Linked DNA regions of Homo sapiens: region 1 is linked to region 2. Evidence: promoter capture Hi-C in 16 types of primary human blood cells and fetal thymus (Javierre and others, 2016). All regions are on one chromosome and are shown on one strand. Each heading gives the region's core, a stretch centred on a gene start or on the middle of the fragment in contact. The rest is flanking DNA. Distances are from core to core; before and after follow the strand shown. Region 1 holds the start of GCH1 (GTP cyclohydrolase 1). Region 2 has its middle 3.5 kb from the start of NAA30.

Region 1 (5,524 bases), core at 2,726-5,225, 2.5 Mb before region 2:
TAACCTCAAGTAATCCGCCCACCTTGGCCTCCCAAAGTGCTGGGATTACAGGTGTGAGCCACCATGCCTGGCCCAATTTTCTTAATTTTTAAATTTTGTTAAAAACTAAGACATGGGGGAGACGAGAGGAAAAAACTAAGACACAAACAAACACATTACTCTAGGCCTACACAGGTCAGGATCACCAAGACATCACCAGACAATGTGAATTTTTCAGCTCCATTGTAATCTTATAAACCACCTTCATACATGTGGTCCATCATTGAAGGAAACATCATAATGTAATGCATGATTATATTCAATTAATGGCTTATAATAATCTTAAATGGGCTGGGTATGGTGGCTCACACCTGTAATCCTAGCACTCTGGGAAGCCAAGGCAGGCAGATCCCTTGAGCTCAGGAGTTCAAGACCAGCCCGGGCAACATGGCAAAAACCCGTCTCTATCAAAAATACAAAAATTAGCAGGGCATGGTGGCACAAGCCTGTAGTTCCAGCTATTCAGGAGGCTGAGGTGGGATCACTTGAGTCCAGCAGAGTGAGACTGCAGTGAGCCGAGATTGCGCCACTGCACTCCAGCCTAGGCAGCAGAGCCAAACCCTGTCTCAAAAACATGAAAATAAACATAATAATAATAATCTTAAATGGTCCGCTCCATGGACTTTTCTTTTCTGAAACAGGGTCTCCCCACGTTGCCCAGGCTGTTCTCCTGAGCAACAACTATCCTCCTGCCTCAGCCTCCCTAGTAGCTGGGACTGCAGGCACGCCACAAAACCTGTCTTTATATTGTGGTAAAATATATATAAAATTGGTCATTTTTAGCCATCTTGAAGTTACAATCCAGTGGCATTCACAATATTGTGCAACTATCACCACTCTCTAGTTCCAGAACATTTTCATGACTCCAAAAGGAAGCTCCAAAGGAAGCTCCATACTCATTAAACAATCACTACCCATCCCCCTCTTCTCGCCAGTCCCTGACAACTACTAATCTTGCAGTGTCTCTACATCCATGGACTTTTTTTTTTTTTGAAATGGAGTTTAGTTCTTGTTGCCCAGGCTGGAGTGTAATGGTGCGATCTCGGCTCACTGCAACCTCCGCCTCCAGGGTTCAAATGATTCTCCTACCTCAGCTTCCTGAGTAGCTGGGATTACAGGCACCTGACACCATGCCCGGCTAATTTTTGTATTTTTGGTAGAGAATGGGTTTTCCCATGTTGGCCAGGCTGGTCTCGAACTCCTGACCTCAGGTGATCCGCCCGCCTCGGCCTCCCAAAGTGCTGGGATTACAGGTGTGAGCCACCGCGCCCGGCCCATGGACTTTTTAAATAGTAAAACTTGACCAGAACAGTTTTTTTGTTTTTTTTGTTTTTTCTGGAGACAGAGTCTCCCTCTGTCGTCCAGGCTGGAGTGCAGTGGTGCAATCTCGGCTCACTGCAACCTCCTCCTCCTGGGTTCAAGTGATTCTCCTGCCTCAGCCTCCCGAGTAGCTGGGACTACAGGCGCCCGCCATCACACCCGGCTAATTTTTTTGTATCTTTAGTAGAGACGGGGTTTCGCCATGTTGACCGGGCTGGTCTTGAACTCCTGACCTCAGGTGATCCGCCCACCTCGGCCTCCCAAAGTGCTGGGATTACAGGCGTGAGCACCGAGCTCGGCCAACCAGAACAGTTTTCTAATGTGGAATGATGTGTTCTTTGCAGTTATTAATCCTCTTTAAATGAATCTTCGCTCATGAGATATTTCAGCTAACCATTTCTCAAGTAAATCTGTGAGTCACTTTAGATAATTCTGTGACCTGTCTCAGGGTCAGAAATTCCTCTCTCTTTGGGTAATTAGATCCATGCTAGATTACAGAACACTGTCCTATGAATTCTCTTTAAGGGAGGATTCCCAAAGCCTGGCCGATGCTGTGAAGTAAACCACTTTCTGTGTCTGCAAGGGGCAAAATGAGTAAGGCCTTAAGAAGACATTTCATTACATTGTGAAATATCTCACACACACACACACACACACACACACACACACACACACACACAAATTTAAAGCCCTAGACCTCCAAAGAGCTGATCCCACAGAAAACTGAAAGTTTATTTTTCAGTCTTTGTATTTTGAAATCTCTTCTGAGATTCCAAACTTTTGCAATTGAGGGGTAAAAAAAAGTGAATTTGGAAACAGAACTAGAAGTCACTGCCGGTTTTAGAGTGTAGCATCATTTCCTTTTGGGGCCCCGTCTCTTTCACATTCTGATTTCCCACCCTTCCTTTGGGGTGTGGAAGACTGGGCAAAAAATAACTTTCTTTTTCCCAGGGTCTATTTGGTGGAATCGCTCTACACTCCTTCAGAGAAATAACTGGGGCAGGGAGATTGCCTTTCCAGCGCACTGTTTTTCTTTCAAAAAACAGTGAACGGTAGAATGCTTCTTAGGGCAAATAAATAAATGTCACCAAGACACACGGAAGGTGTAGACTGGAAAATAATGTCTTTGGTCCCAGCTGTAGAAGCCAGAAGCTTTATTTTTTTAAACACAGACCAATACTGCTTCTCTGGCCAACAGGCAGCAAAGTCCCCATTTTCCACTCTCCATCACCCCATCTTGCATCCTACCCACACTGATTGCATCCCCACCCTCTGGGTGAAAAGCCGACACGCCTCAGACGCTAACAGCACCGGGTCAACCCGGCTTTATTTTAGGGTGGGAGGGTGCGGGGATGAGACTGAGTCCTGGAACCCACGGAGCCCTCCGAATCCCGGAGTAGCTTTACTGCTTTTTGCGGGGTTGGGGGTGGGGGGAGGAAACAGATTTCAGCAGCAAACTCACCCAATCAACCTCACACCTCAAACTCCGGGGAAGCCCGTGCCCAAAATTGTGCCGAATTTTGTAAATGTCCTGAACTGGAGTAAACTTGAGGTGGACAAAAAAAAAAGCACAACTCTAAGACTCCGATCCCCTGGCAAATCAGTGGGAATGCAGGTCCCCGAGGTTTCGGGGAAGGATCGCGCCGAGGCTTCAATCCAGATACACACCCTGACAATGGGATCTCAATAAGGAACTACCCAGGAAGCCGTCGCCGCAGCAAGTGCCCAGGTGATCCTTATCGTGGGCAAGTTTGGAACCGCAGGTACCCCGAGAATCCCGCGCTGGGCGCTCAGGCGAGAGGGCTCCGGGCTCCCGTCCACGCCCACCCGGGGCGTTCTAGGAGGGCTGCGCGCTGGGAGCGGGAAGGGCCCCTGGAAGGCGGCTGCAGCGAGTTCCGGGGCTGAGAGGTCGCTGCCACCCAGGAAGCCCCGACTGTGCCCCACGCAGGGCCTCGGCAGGGCGGCAGGCTAGGGCGGGTTCGGAGGTGACAGCGCCCGGCTTCCTGCGCCAAAAGTGAGGCAACTCCGGAAACTTCCTGGAGCCGGCGCGCGTTTCCTGCAAGCACCGCCCCCGCCGCCCGCACGCTCTAGCAGCCCGCGGGCGCACTGACCTGAGATGGTCTCCTGGTAGCCCTTGGTGAAGAACTGCATGGCCGAGGCCGCCCTCCAGGGCGTCTTGAGCAGCCCTTGCCGCTGGGGGTTCTCGCCCAGCGAGCTCAGGATGGACGAGTAGGCGGCTGCCAGGTTAGGGAGGTTCAGCTCGTTATCCTCCTCGCTGCGGGGCCGCTCGCCCTTCCAGCCGTCCGCGGGCTGCGCGCTCTTGGCCTCGGGCCGCGGGGGCTTCTCCGCCGGCCTGCTGGGCCCGGGCCGCGGCGGATCCCGCTCGGGGAACCCATTGCTGCACCTGGCGCCCCGCGGCTTCTCCGCCGGTGCCCGCACAGGGCCCTTCTCCATGGACCCGCCGCAGCCGCTGCCGTTCGGGAAGGACCCCGGGGCGCTTCGAGGTCTGCGGCTAAACTCCGCCGGTGGCCGCGGACAATGGGCTGTGGCCGGAGTCACCTGAGGAAGGTACGCAACCTGCTTAGATCACACTCCGAGCCGGGAGCGGCCACAGGCTGGAAAGCCCGGCCGCGCCTCCTTTTTATGGCCCGGCGGCTCAGCCTGCGCCGCGGAGCGCTCCCATTGGCCGGCCCCGCCTCGCGTCACGGCCCTCGCCGCGCCCCTCGGCCTCCCGCCCCCGGGGTCCCCAGCAGGGGTCGCGGCTCCGGAGACGCCCGGAGGGGTTCGCAAGCGCAGGGAGGGAAGGAAAAGGGCGCCGGCCCCTAGGATCAGGCGGGACCCCTCCACTTATTGCGGAATGAGCCGAACCCGAAAAGAGGCAGTCGTCCAGGAGCTGGGATCTCAGTGAGAAAGACGCGGTCTGGGCGCCCAGTCGCCCCCTCTTCAGGCCAAGAGGGCGCTGCATTGAAGGGCTCCGGTCCCCTCGCCCTGTGAAAGATCAGCAAACAGGTGGCCTTGCCTGGAGAGAGACCGAGTTAAGCCACCGATTAGGAACCAACTCTTAAGCTTTCAAGGCAAGAGAATAATGTGACTTCAGACTCTTGGGTTTAGTTAAAAACGCACCTGCCACCTAGGGGCCAGGTGGCACCGCTGTCGGGGCAAGTGTCACATCAAGTGGCCCTTATGTGGGTCCCTATGTCTAGAAGGATAGGATTTATGGTTGCTAGAACTTTGATCCTGGAAAAATTGATTTGCAAACGAAGATAGGACTTTCACTTAAAATCCATTTCCGTCGGTGGCTCACGCCTGTACTCCCGGCGCTTGGGGAGACCGAGGCGGGAGGATCGCTTGAGGCCAAGAGTTCGAGACCAGCCTGGAAAACATAGCAAGACCTCATCTCTATAAAACCCATCGCATTTTCTAGAAACGCAGTTGTGCAGATTTGGTGCTCAATTGTTTTACAGTTCCATGCAAAGCGTCTTTCCCCAGATGTTGGTACAAATTGTGAAATGCTATTCACCAACTGAACTCTTAACCAGTGACATCTGCTGTAACTGTTTTCTTTGAGATTAATAAATGGACCTTTTTCCTCACTTGAGGGATTATCTCATAATGCCGAAGGTGAGCTTTAAAACATGTATCAAAATAATATTTTTTTTCTTTTTTTTTTTTTGAGGCTCACTTCATCCTCCGCCTCCTGGGTTCAAACGATTCTCCTGCCTCAGCCTCCTGAGTAGCTGGGATTACAGGCACCTGCCACCATGCCCGGCTAAATTTTTGTATTTTTAGGAGAGGTGGGGTTTTGCCATGTTGGCCAGGCTGGTCTCGAACTCCTGACCTCAGGTGATCCACCTGCCTCGGCCTCCCAAAGTGCTGGGATTACAGGTGTGAGCCACCATGCCTGGCCTAATGTAGATTTTCTGACATAGAAGCAGGTATTAATAGGCTTAGGATCAAACAAACCAATAGGGAAGCCTGTGGAATTATTCTATGCTAACAATGTAGCTTGGTCATTATAATAAGTAATTAGTATTTATGATACATCTGCTCTAGGCGCAGCCCCGTTGGAAACATTCAGGAAAGAAATATGGACATTGCCTAGCCTTGTAGGCACCTTTACTCCAAAATGGAAGAAATGTTCATATCAGTGGGGTTATTTATTTAT
Region 2 (5,724 bases), core at 1,315-3,814:
ATTGTGCCACTGCACTCCAGCCTGGGTGACAGAGCAAAACCCCTGTCTCAAATAATAATAATGATAATAATAATAATAAGAAGAAGAAGAAGAAGAAGAAGAAGAAGAAGAAGCATCTGTGATTATTTTAAGTAAAATAATCTTAAGACCCAAGTATATCATATATAAGATGAGAAGTTCTATATAAGTAAACTTAGTTAAAGGTATATACACCAAGAGTGAGATCTACATTCTGAAAAGGTATAGAACAAGATCAATCTTTCATTCTTGTATTCAAAATAATGTATTATGTATATACCAATAAAAAGAGGAATAAGACATAATTCCTACCCTTAAAAGACTTCTAGAAGAAGCAACAGAAAAACAACGATCACAGAAGTCTGCAGCACTCACAGAGTAGGTAGAAGCCAGTTTTGCGAGAGGTGGGGAGGTGTGTGTGGTGTGTGTGTGTGTGACAGAGAGAGAAAGAGAAGAGAGGGAAGGGGGGTGCATTATGAGGGGTGATGATTCCAGGGACCATCAGCACAGACACAGAGGCCAGAAATCATCTTGTACATTTTGGCAAGTGCAAGTTACTTGGTTCAAAGGTCATTCATTTATATACACAATAATTATTAATTGAATATTTTGGGTTGAAGCTGTGAATGGCAAGAAGTAACTGCTGCTTCAAGGTAAGATCACCAAAAGGGCTTTGTTTATGTAGTGAACATAAGTGGTTGCCTTAACAGCATCCACTCCACATTCTTCTTCCTAACACAAACCCAATTTTGTTTAGTATACATCCCTTTTCCACACACCCATACACCTCCAAGGAAGCTCACCTCACTCTTAATCTCCTTCCAGTGATTGACTCAGAAATAGCATGTGATATATTCTAACCAAGAACATAGCCAGAGAAGTTGGTTAGAGGTTTCTGGAAAAGTAAATCTGCGAGTTACTGAAAGCCTCTCCCTTCCTCTTACTGGGCATGAATAAAGAAGCACTTAGCCCCAAACACTTTTGGCAGCCATATTATAACAATGAAGGAAATCAGCATTAGGATGGAGCTGATTCTGTGAATGGAAGGAGAGAGACAGAAACTTGGGTTCACAATGATATCATGAAACAACTAATCCCGAACCTCGCTCTGCCTCTGACTGTCTCATTTCCTTATTTTTTTTTAAAGCCAGATTGAGCTTGTGGCCAAAGCACCCTAACCAAAGTTTAGATTTGATTATTAGGCTATGGGAGTCTCTGAAGAGATTTAAGCCAGGGAGTGACAAAATAGGTTTGTATTTTGTAAGGGTGGCAGTGGTAGAAATGTTGAGGATGGATGGGTGGGATGGGAGATCAGCTAACATTTACGGGGGCTTCCTATATTCTCTGTATTAAACACTTTACATATAATAATTCATTTTACCCTTCCAAAACCCTACAAGGCATGTAATATTATCCATATCCGATATGAGGAATCTGAAGCCCAGACACATTAAGTTGTCAACACCACACAGCCAGTAATTGGCAGAGCCAGGATCTGAACTCCAATTTTACTTAGATACTCCTTCATCCCCCAGCCACATACATCAGGAGAAGCTCACCTCATACTCAATCTCAGACAGGCCTGATTGACATAAGAGTAAATCCAGCCCCTTTCCAGTGTCTGGCTCAGGAATAGGCCAGTGATCCAATTCTGGTCTGGCTTCTGACCACCAATTCATAGGGTTATCATAAGAACTAAATGAGCTATTATTTATAACATGCTTAATACATGGGAAGACCACAATAAATGGTAGCTATTGTTATTATTAAAAGCTTCTATTATCAAGAACAACTGAGAAAGAATGTCCAAAGGAGGGCAAGAGAGAGTGGAGAAGCCAAGGGAAGAGTTTCTGGAAGGACACAGCAGGATGAAATGCCACGATGGAATAAAGTGATGTGAGAACTGGAAGAGTCTAGTTAGGACATAACAGGTGATTTTTTGCCAGAGTGTTGTTTGAAGAAGGGCTGAGATTGAAGCCAACCCACCAATGAAGAGTGAACCTGCACCTGAGTAGAGACAGTGGATACCTATTGCAGATTAGGAGTTTGTGGTGAAAAGGAGGCAGGAAAAGGATGGTAGTGGGAGAAATCTCTAAATGGGGCATGTTTATAAACTTTGAGGCAGTAGCTAGCAAAGGTAACATGGAAAATTCAGGAGAGAGAAACAATGATGGGACAGGTTCTAAAGGAGCCTGAAAGAGAAAGCATCAAGCCCACAGGTAGAGGGAGGTATTAGTCATGAAGAATTGATCCATCTTCCACCCTCTTAAGACTGGGAGGGAGGAGGTAAGGGTAAGTTCAGATACAGATGAACTTATAGGTATGGCAGTAGAAGGCACACCTATGAAATAGTTCACTTTTCTTAGTGAAATGGAGGCAGGGTTATCTGCTGAGAGTGTGAAGCAAGTAGTGGTTGAGGACAGTTGCTGTTGGATGAAGCTGGCCTTGGAGACAGGTTAAAACAATTCTAGACAGCTGAAGGCATAGCTAAATTAGAGACCAAAAATTTTTTGGCTCTAATATGTAGGAATATATGATTCTCTCCAACATGTCTCACCAGCCCAGGTGTATCTGTGAGAATCACCCTGACCATGTCTTCAGGCAGGTCATGAAGAGTTAGTGTGAGGTTGAAAATAATGGAAATGGGGACCATTTGACCACAACCCTCTCTGGTTCTTCATAGTCCTCTGAGGCCTCAGTTCTACAAACAAAATTGATGCCTACCTACAATTGGTACTGCCATCCACTACTGGCAAGGGGAAAGAAGTTTAAAGAACAGACTGTCATTCCCCAAATTCGAAGGGAAGAATCAAATTGTTAGTCTTTTACCTGGGCATCTCAGAGTGTTCTAAGATTACAGGTAATACAACAATATACTAATATTCATCCTTTGGTTAAGTTCTTCAGCTCTCAAATTTGATGTATGTTCTTTCTTTCATTCAAGATGAAACAAAGTTAAGGACATTCATTTTCAGGGCTTTATGTATAATAGATAGGATTAGTGGGATTAAGAACCACATGACATGTAAAATAAAACTACACAAATATTTAAATTATTTAGTATGTGTGCCTATGGCACATAACAATGTCATCCTGCTGTGTCAAGGGAACTTAAAGCATCTTTCCATTATTCATTCCCACAGTTACCTTTCAGGTAGGTACACAGCTAGGTTTTCTCTCTAAACCTAGCCAATAAGAGAAAAATGCCTCACTGTTAGAAAGAATTAAATAGAAATTTTTCTCCTTCCAAGCTGATTTCAATAAATTGCTTCAGGATGTTGTTTTAAAATTGCTATTGGTTATTTTAATTGATTTAATGAGAAGCTTTTTTTTCTTCTAAAAAATTAAGGCATGTTCTCTTCTTCCTCAAAAGAGAACAACAATAGTAAAAAAAAAAAAAAAAGAAAAAAAAAGAAAAGAAAAAATGGCTGTTGCTTCATAGGATATTACAAAACAATGAAAATATCAACTAACCACACAGAAGAGTATCACTGCTACACTCACCTTGCTCTGAGCCCATTCTTTCCTATGAAGTATTGCTCATGGAGGTAGTTGTTTTTTCAGAGTCTCATAATAGTAAATATGTCTAAAGCATTAGAGTGAACTAATCCTATTTCTATGCCTAAAATAGTGCTATCATCCTATCAAGTAAACATGAATCAAATAGAAAAGATTTCATAAGTTATAAAGGCAATTTTTTTTAGAGATGTCATCTGATTTAGAAGGCCAACATTGTAATTTTAATACTGGGATATAAAGAAAAATCACTGGGGCTGAGACATTAGAATTACCCCACTAGTTATTGAGGAGGTCAGAATTTACTTTGTCATTATAAGCATTCTAGGTTACTGAATGAGAGACTGGTGTACTTCAGTCAAAAAGCTTAACAATTTCCCTTTTATGTGTTTGATATGTGAATACAAAGTGACTAACATTTACTCCCTGGCCTCAAGAAGGTCCTTACAACTCTTGACTTTCTGAAAACCACTTTGAGACAACATCTGGTCAGCTCCTCAGTGTGACAGAGCTCAATGCCAAGTTGCAACACAGAAAGAACAGGAAGGCCTGCTGCCATTCATTCACTACAGTGAAGGTACATGCTTTTTAGGAAGGGCTTACATTTAAAAGTAAATTACTGAGAGGTATTTTTCTAAGTAAAATTCACCCTTAAACATCTCTTATGGAATTATCTGGTGCCTCTTGGGCCAGTTTTTCCACCATGATTTGAACAGATCATTGTTTCATTGGCTGACTACCCAGGTTACACTTAGAAACTTTGAAAAACATGTATCTTTAAACAATGTATGCACATTTGGAAACATGGTTTTGTTTTGTGCTTTTTAAAAGACAGAAAAGGGATCACGCTGTACTTATACATCTCATTTATATCCCCCACACATCAAGGTGTTTAGGAGGTTTTCAATGTATCTGTAGCAAGTTATACATTCTGAAAATGGCCACAGCAATATTTCTGGTCCCATATGCTCTTTGAGAACCTTGCCTCTCTCCACCAAGAGTAGAGTCTATTTCCCCTCCTGTCAAAACTGGATATAATTTTGTGTCTGCCTAGATACAATGCAGCAGAACTGACACTACATAACTTGTTTTTTGTTTCTTTTTGATGAGAGGGAGTCTCCCTGTGTTGCCCAGGCTGGAGTGCAGTGGCGCAATCTCGGCTTACTGCAACCTCCGCCTCCCGGGTTCAAGTGATTCTCCTCAGCCTCCTGAGTAGCTGGGACTACAGGCATGAGCTACCACGCCCGGCTAATTTTTGTATTTTTCGGCAGAGATGAGGTTTCACTGTGTTGGCCAGGCTGGTCTCGAACTCCTGGCCTCAAGAGATCCTCCCGCCTGGGCCTCCCAAAATGCCAGGATTACAGGCGTGAGGCACCGCACCTGGCTAGAGACTACATGACTTCTAAGGCTAGGTTATAATGGGTAATATGCTTCTGATTGACTTTCTCGCACGATACTTGCCGTGGAACCCAGCCACCAGGCTGTGACAAAGCCCAAACCAATCAATGCTAAAAGACCACCGGGAGAGGTCTACATGGACTAGAACTGAGGCCTCCAGCCTTTATCCTGCATCAACCATCAGCGGTGAAAGTGAAGTTTTCAAATAATTCTACTCCTCAGCCTTAGAGTCTTCCAACTGAAGCTCTACGCATAATGGAGTAGAGAAAAGCCATCCCAGTTGTGCTCTGTCTGGATTTCAGAGGCACAGAATCTGCGAGCATAATAAATACTTTATACATAGAGTTTAGATTACGGCAAAAAGTTGCAAACGTGTTCCGTCATAGAATTATATATTGAAAACGTCCATCTGCGGCACACCAGACCAGCTCTATAAATCAGGTTTTTAACAAAACCGAATTTGTTCAGTGAGCGGGTGAGTTACACTACCTGTCTCAGCTCAGACCTGCCGGGAGTCAATTGTGGACTAGAGCAGAAGGCGCCCAGCCACAAGCTCAAGTTCTATCCCCTTTGCACTCGATAGGCAGATCCCCTGGGAGGATCAGGCCACCTGTTTACCAGTGCTTCCTAACCTATTTGTGTCACAAGTTTAGGAGTGTGCTTCTTAGCCCTGGTCACTCTCTTTCACCACCTCTCTCTAACCCTTCCCCAGGTGTGCTAGCAATTGCCCAACACCTGTCAGTCACTTTTGCCTCCAATTTTACTGGGTGCGAGGAGCAGAGTAAGGAGGGA

The links. The method cuts DNA at HindIII sites, captures the fragments that hold promoters and counts their contacts. A CHiCAGO score of 5 or more calls a contact.
Region 1: the fragment with the promoter of GCH1 here is called in contact with a fragment that was not itself captured in region 2 in 5 of 17 cell types (total CD4 T cells, non-activated CD4 T cells, activated CD4 T cells and 2 more); the score reaches 8.3 in total CD4 T cells.

The regions. Positions count from the first base shown.
Region 1 is chr14:54,898,851-54,904,374 of GRCh38, forward strand. GCH1 (GTP cyclohydrolase 1) reads right to left here and starts at 3,976. Exons shown (of 6, transcript NM_000161.3): 1 at 3,471-3,976. The coding sequence starts at 3,813. RefSeq lists silencers at 3,161-3,220, 3,231-3,280, 3,691-4,330. The HindIII fragment of the contact is 1,914 bases long and covers 2,510-4,423 here.
Region 2 is chr14:57,384,238-57,389,961 of GRCh38, forward strand. No RefSeq gene overlaps it. Among named protein-coding and RNA genes, the nearest start is that of NAA30, 3.5 kb to the right of the region's middle. The HindIII fragment of the contact is 1,551 bases long and covers 1,790-3,340 here.